Linked DNA regions of Homo sapiens: region 2 is linked to region 1. The links are contacts of gene promoters, found by promoter capture Hi-C in human tissues and cell types (Jung and others, 2019). All regions are on one chromosome and are shown on one strand. Each heading gives the region's core, a stretch centred on a gene start or on the middle of the fragment in contact. The rest is flanking DNA. Distances are from core to core; before and after follow the strand shown. Region 1 holds the start of OR10D3 (olfactory receptor family 10 subfamily D member 3). Region 2 has its middle 14 kb from the start of OR10G7.

What was found. The method cuts DNA at HindIII sites, captures the fragments that hold promoters and counts their contacts. A contact is called where the count stands out against the background at its distance.
Region 2: a fragment that was not itself captured here is called in contact with the fragment with the promoter of OR10D3 in region 1 in 1 of the 25 tissues and cell types used here (pancreas).

The regions. Positions count from the first base shown.
Region 1 is chr11:124,181,696-124,184,764 of GRCh38, forward strand. It overlaps OR10D3 (olfactory receptor family 10 subfamily D member 3), which reads left to right and starts at 1,650. Exons shown (of 2, transcript NM_001355213.3): 1 at 1,650-1,688. The HindIII fragment of the contact is 12,854 bases long and covers 1-3,069 here.
Region 2 is chr11:124,053,438-124,056,506 of GRCh38, forward strand. It overlaps the pseudogene OR10D5P. Among named protein-coding and RNA genes, the nearest start is that of OR10G7, 14 kb to the left of the region's middle. The HindIII fragment of the contact is 4,298 bases long and covers 1-3,069 here.

The DNA.
Region 1 (3,069 bases), core at 400-2,899:
GGTTATGCAGTAAGCAATAGAAACTTTTACATACGACTCTTCATATTTTCTATTTTTAGTCAGTTTTCACAAATTAATAAGCATTTGATAAATTATTTTGACAAATCATTTGAATATCTTGGCAAATGTTGTAATATCTCTTTTCATTCTGCTTAATCCATGTGCTTCTGTCATCCTTTCATTCCTCATGTTTATATGTGCCTTCTCACTTTTTTCAAGAATCATTTTTAAAGAAGTACTTCTATTTTCTTAGTCTTTTCAAAGAGCCAAATTTAGCATTGCTGACCTCTTTTCTTTTGTTTTCTCTACTTTATTATTTCAGGTTTTTACATATTTTTCAGTTCTTTGACAACTCTGTAACTGTTACGTTACATGAAAGAGGAATAATTTCCAGATTACAAATGTCTGGAATCTCAAAGGGCAAGGTTCTTGACTCCTTTCACAGAAGAGAAGGTCAAGATTAAGGAAATTTGTCTTATTCTTGGTTGTATAGGTTATTAATTAATGTTTGTTGAATAATACTTTGATATAATTCTGGGAATATCATCAGGAGAACTATTTCTGGTTCAGGAAATTCAGCTGTGCCAATTGACAAATGTTTGTTGGAGTCTAGGAAAAGAAATTCTATTTCTATATCAAAATATTAGAAACCATAGTCTGAAAAGTAGAAGAACTATGTTAGTTCACTAGGGCTGCCATAACAAAACAGAATATACTAGGTGACACAAACAACAGGAATTTTTTTTCTCGCAGTTCTGCAGATTGTAAAATTCAAGATCAAGGTTGCACAGGTTTTGCAGCAGGGTTTGGTTTCTGGGGCTTAGAGATGGGGCTGTCTTCTTGCTGTGTTCTCACATGGAGAGATAAAGGGAGAGAAAAAGACAGGCAGAGAGAGAGAGAGAAAGAGACAGAGAGAGAGATCTGATGTCTCTCCTTTTACAAAGATACCAGTTCTATTGCATCAGGGCTTCATCCTTATGGTCTCATTTAACTTTATTCACCTTCTTAAAGACCCTACTTCCAATACAGTTACGTGGATTGGGTGTGTTAAGAGTTTCAACACGAATTTTTGAAGGAACACAATTCAGTTCATGGCAAGAACTATGAAGAAACTGAGATTAAAATATTTAAAATTGGATATTTTTAAAAGTCTGAGATATATGGTTGTTAGGTTATTTCTCATTCCGATAATGTATCCTGAAACTGGGTAACTGGTTTCTACATATGTCCTAGGATTGGGCTATACCATTCACCTTTTTTCTCCTTTCCCAGGGTCAATCTTAGAGGTAGAAAATAGAGATTTGGCTCCCCCTTGTTCCTATCCAGCACTGTCACAGTGGGAAACATCACCATATTCTATTTCAACTAGACAGTTTACTCACTTCTAATTACTCCCTTTGCTCAACAACCTCCTTGAATAGGACTCATTCAGGAATGGGGTCCCAAAGGCTCCAAAGATATTTAAATTTCCACGTAGGAGAAAGCAATGTAGATATCAGTGTCTTGGAAGATGTCTGTGCAGAAGACAGAGACGCACGCTGCTGCATGTCATTTAGTCAGAGTTTATTTGGCTAAGAAGAAAGCATTCCAGATCATGGGTGGAGATCCCTAACCTCTAATATGCCAAAGGAAAATTTGGACTAAAAATCCTATACAAACAGATGATTAAATGATCATACTTTCTCTTTGTAAGTTACATAAGTGCCATCTTTGCCTCTTTCTCTCTCTTTCTTTCTCTCTCTCTTTCTCTCTCTCTTTCTCTCTCTTTCTCTTTCTTTCTCTTTTTTTCTCTTTCTTTTTTTTTCTTTCTTTCCCCTTCCTTCCTTCCCTCCCTCCCTCCCTGCCTCCTTCCCTCCTTCCCTCCTTCCCTCCCTCCCTCCCTCCCTGAGTCTCACTCTGTTGGCCAGGCTGAAGTGCAGTGGCACGATCTCAGCTCACTGCAACCTCCACCTCCCGGGTTCAAGCAATTCTCCTGCCTTAGTCTCCAGAGTAGCTGAAATTATAGGGGCCCTCACCTCTTTTTTCACTCCTCTTTTATGCTTTGTGTATCCAATGGAGAGGAAAATTTGGAGTCCTCAGTTTACAAAGTATTCTCAGAATTCAGAATGAACAGAGAGCATGGATCTACTGGCCAGAAGAATAGATCTTATTTGCTTGGTTTATCTTTGAGCCCATTGTGCTGGCCCATCAGCTCACAAACCCCATTCTTGTTATTTCACTTTACAATCAGGAATTTGGACTTGATTTTATATTATTAAAGTAACAGAAACTCTAAATGAGCCCATATGTGGATATCTTCATTTGATTCTTTCTTTGATGTATGACAGCCAGGACATTTTTGGAAGCAGTATAGATTATATGTAGCACTTGTCTTGGGTCTGATTGCTTTTTGGAATGTAGTGTAGAGCTTCTTCTGGAGTGCAGGTGACATGATTGTAAACAGAGAAATTCCAAATATACAGGAAATGGGCAAAAGAGAAACAGGTAGATGATCAAGTTGCTTTAGAAGACTGTGAGGAGAAATTACTATCTGATAGTACCACACAGATCCTTGCACAAGAGGAATGATATCCAATTCTTGCCAGGCATTGAGTGAGTTATCTTATTTCCTTCATCAAACGTTTATTGAAAAAGGCACTGTTCTTTGCACTGAGAGTATAATCGTAAACACAAAAAATATTTACTCTCCTAGATGTTATATTTGTGTGTGTGTGGGGAGGTAGCTGGATATATATTGATTTTCCATTGCTTACTAAGGAGGAGGAGGAACAACATTTTAAGAGCCTGGTGATGTCCAAATGAAAAACATGGTTAATACCGGGGTAAGATTTGACAAGGCCAGTAATGCCGTGATCTATCACAGATGGATCCATCCAGACCCGGGGGAAAGACTGATGTTTAAAAAGAAAAAAAAAGAATGTAGATGCCTAGTTCTACCAAGAACTAGCTGCCTTAATTTAGGAGAGTCACCTAGCCTTCCTACTGCTCAAATGTAATCTTTTCTGTAGACCTCCTCAAAAAGTGACTGCCAGGATTAGATGAACGGAGATCATGTTGTATAAGTGTTTT
Region 2 (3,069 bases), core at 177-2,676, 130 kb before region 1:
TTTCCCTTCAGTCTGTGAGTGCCTTTTCTCTGGAGTGCTCCCCTCTCATCTTCTGATGAGTTCTACGCACTAGAGGAAGGTGGGAAGAACGTGGGAATTGGCTCTGTTTGACTTTGGGCTAAATCTGACTTAGTTGACTCCATGGTATTTTATTGAGCTATTACCTGATTAATGAAGCTTAACCTTAGAAATTTTAGGAAATGAATAAGATGTAAAGTGATAATGGGGAATTATAAAGCTAATTCTAGGAAAAATGATGATTATTTGCAGTCAAGTCACAGATATAATTGCTATTGGACACTAAACTCTATTAAAAGAAATGGCTGTTTTTAATATCAGTAATTATCTATTGCTTTTTCCTACCTACATATCATCTTTTCTATTCTTTTATTTCTTTATTTTTATTTAAGTTATTTTTGGGACAGGGTCTCACTCTGTCACCCAGGCTGGAGTGCAGTGGCATGATTTTGGCTCACTGCAATCTCTGCCTTTTCAGCTTAAAGGATCTCCCCACCTCAGCCTCCCAAGTAGCTGGGACTACAGACATACACCACCACACTCAGCTAGTTTTTTCTTTTTCTTTTCCTTTTTTTTTAAATTTTTGAAGAGACAAGGCGTCACTGTATTGCCTAGGCTAGTCTCAAATCCCTGGGCTCAAGTGATCCTGCCACCTTGGCCTCCCAAGCTGCTGGGATTACAGGTGTGAGCCGCCATGCCCAGGCTTCCTTTCTGTTTTACACCCATTAGACAATTCTCAGTTTTCAGTTACTCTAGCTGCTGATTGAGAAAGCTGCCTCCCGGATCAGTCACATGAATGGGTAATCTCAGAACTGCTACAAGTCAACTTAGAGAAATGCTGTGGAATAAGGCACACATTAAATAATTTGATGAATAAATTTTTTAACAAAGATGGGTAGGAGCCAAAATTATATGGGTACTTTGCAGACATCAATGCATTAATGTACACAGGAACCATAATATATTATTTTACTATTTATATATATTCAGAAAAGATTTAAAGAGTTTTTTTCAAGGTCATCTGATGTCAGAGTGGGCAGCGTGTTTAGTATGTAAACTCAGATACTTCCAGTTGTAAAGTTTATTCTACACCTTCTCTTCTATATCAACTCTAGTGTTGTCTCTTCATTTTACTTATGAGGAAACAGATGAAAAATAGATTAATAACTTACCCAAATGTCACTCAATAATTAATGACAGGATTGAACTGAGTCTTATTTAGAAGTTCTCCACTCTATATACTTATTATCAGTTTGCGATAGGCTCTATAAAGAGTTTTTTGCAGGAAAAACTCATCTCAGTGAGGCCATTGTTTGATGTTCCAGGACTAATTTGACATGAAGATAAAGAATCACACTCCAGTAACTGAGGTCCCCCTGATGGGAATCCCTCATACAAAGGGGATGGAAAATGTGCTTTTTGTCTTATTTCTGGCCTTCTACCTCTTCACCTTGCTGGGGAACCTACTCATTCTTCTGGCCGTCCTCACTTTCTCCAACCTCCACACCCCCATGTATTTCTTCCTGGGAAACCTGTCTGTGTTTGACATATTTTTCCCTTCAGTGAGTTCCCCCAAAATGATGCTCTGCTTAGTGGGACAAAGCTGCACCATCTCTTTCCAGGGTTGTGCCTCCCAGCTCTTCTTTCACCATTTCCTGGGTTGCACCGAGTGTTTCCTGTACACTGTGATGGCCTATGACCGATTTGCAGCCATCTGCCACCCTTTGCCATACACGGTCATCATGAAACGCAGGGTGTGTGCCCTCCTGACGCTAGGCACCTGGACGGGGAGCTGTCTGCATGCATCTGTCCTCACACTCCTCATCTTTAAGTTATCCTACTGTGGCCCCAATGAAGTGGACAATTTTTTTCTGTGATATTCCGGTGGTGCTGCCCCTGGCCTGCGCAGACACCTCTCTAGCACGGACAGTGAGTTTCATCAACGTAGGTGTTGTTGCGCTCATGTGTTTTCTTCTTATCCTCACCTCTTATGCTTGCATTGTTATCTCTATACTGAAAATCAGTTCCTCAGAAGGTAGGCGCAGAGCCTTCTCAACCTGCAGTGCCCATCTGACGTCCATCCTGCTCTTCTATGGACCAATAGTCCTCATTTATCTCCGACCTGCCTCCAGCCCTTGGCTGGACTCTGTGGTTCAGGTGTTGAATAATATTGTTATCCCTTCCCTGAATCCTTTGATATATACTTTGAGAAACAAAGGTGTAAAGCTGGCACTGAGAAAGGTGCTCATTCAAGGAGTACATAATTGTGGAAGGTAAGCTTTATATCCTGGTCTGTCTTTACAGCTTTGTCTTGAATTTATCTGGGGGCAATTAGCTCCTATATTTTGTTTGATGACTGAGTACCAGGCGCTATTTACAAATACTGATACATGTAATGATTATAATAATCATATGAAGTAGATAATACTATTATCTCGATTTACGAGGGAAAATTAAGGCACTGAGAGGCTGAGATCTTTCTGCAGTGTCATGGAGTTAAAAACTTGCTGGGCGAAAATGTGACCCAAAGCGTCTTAACCATGTGCTAATGCTGCTTCTGTAGTGTCTAAATGGTAACATAAATACTTCTCTCAGGAGCTTCTTTTCGGTTTACACAGAATATTCTTCAATTTGCCAGCAAATCTAGTACATTAAATTTGCTCCATTGATTTCTATAACTTTTTTTGAGTCTATATTTTGATGGATGACATATGTCTGAGTCTGATACCAAGAAATTATCTGGCTGGGTATGGTGGCCTACGCCTGTAATCCCAGCACTTTGGGAGGCTGAGGCAGGCAGATCACTTGAGCTCAGGAGTTCAAGACCAGCCTGGTCAACATGGTGAAACCCCGTCTCTACTAATAATACAAAATTAGCCAGGCGTGGTGGTGGGCACCTGTAGTCCCAGCTACTCAGGAGGCTGAGGCAGGAGAATCGCCTGAACCTGGGAGGTGGAGGCTGCAGTGAGCCAAGATCACAGCACTGCACTCCAGCCTGGGCGATGGAACGAGAGACACTGTCTTAAAAATAAAAAAAAAAGAAAGAAAATA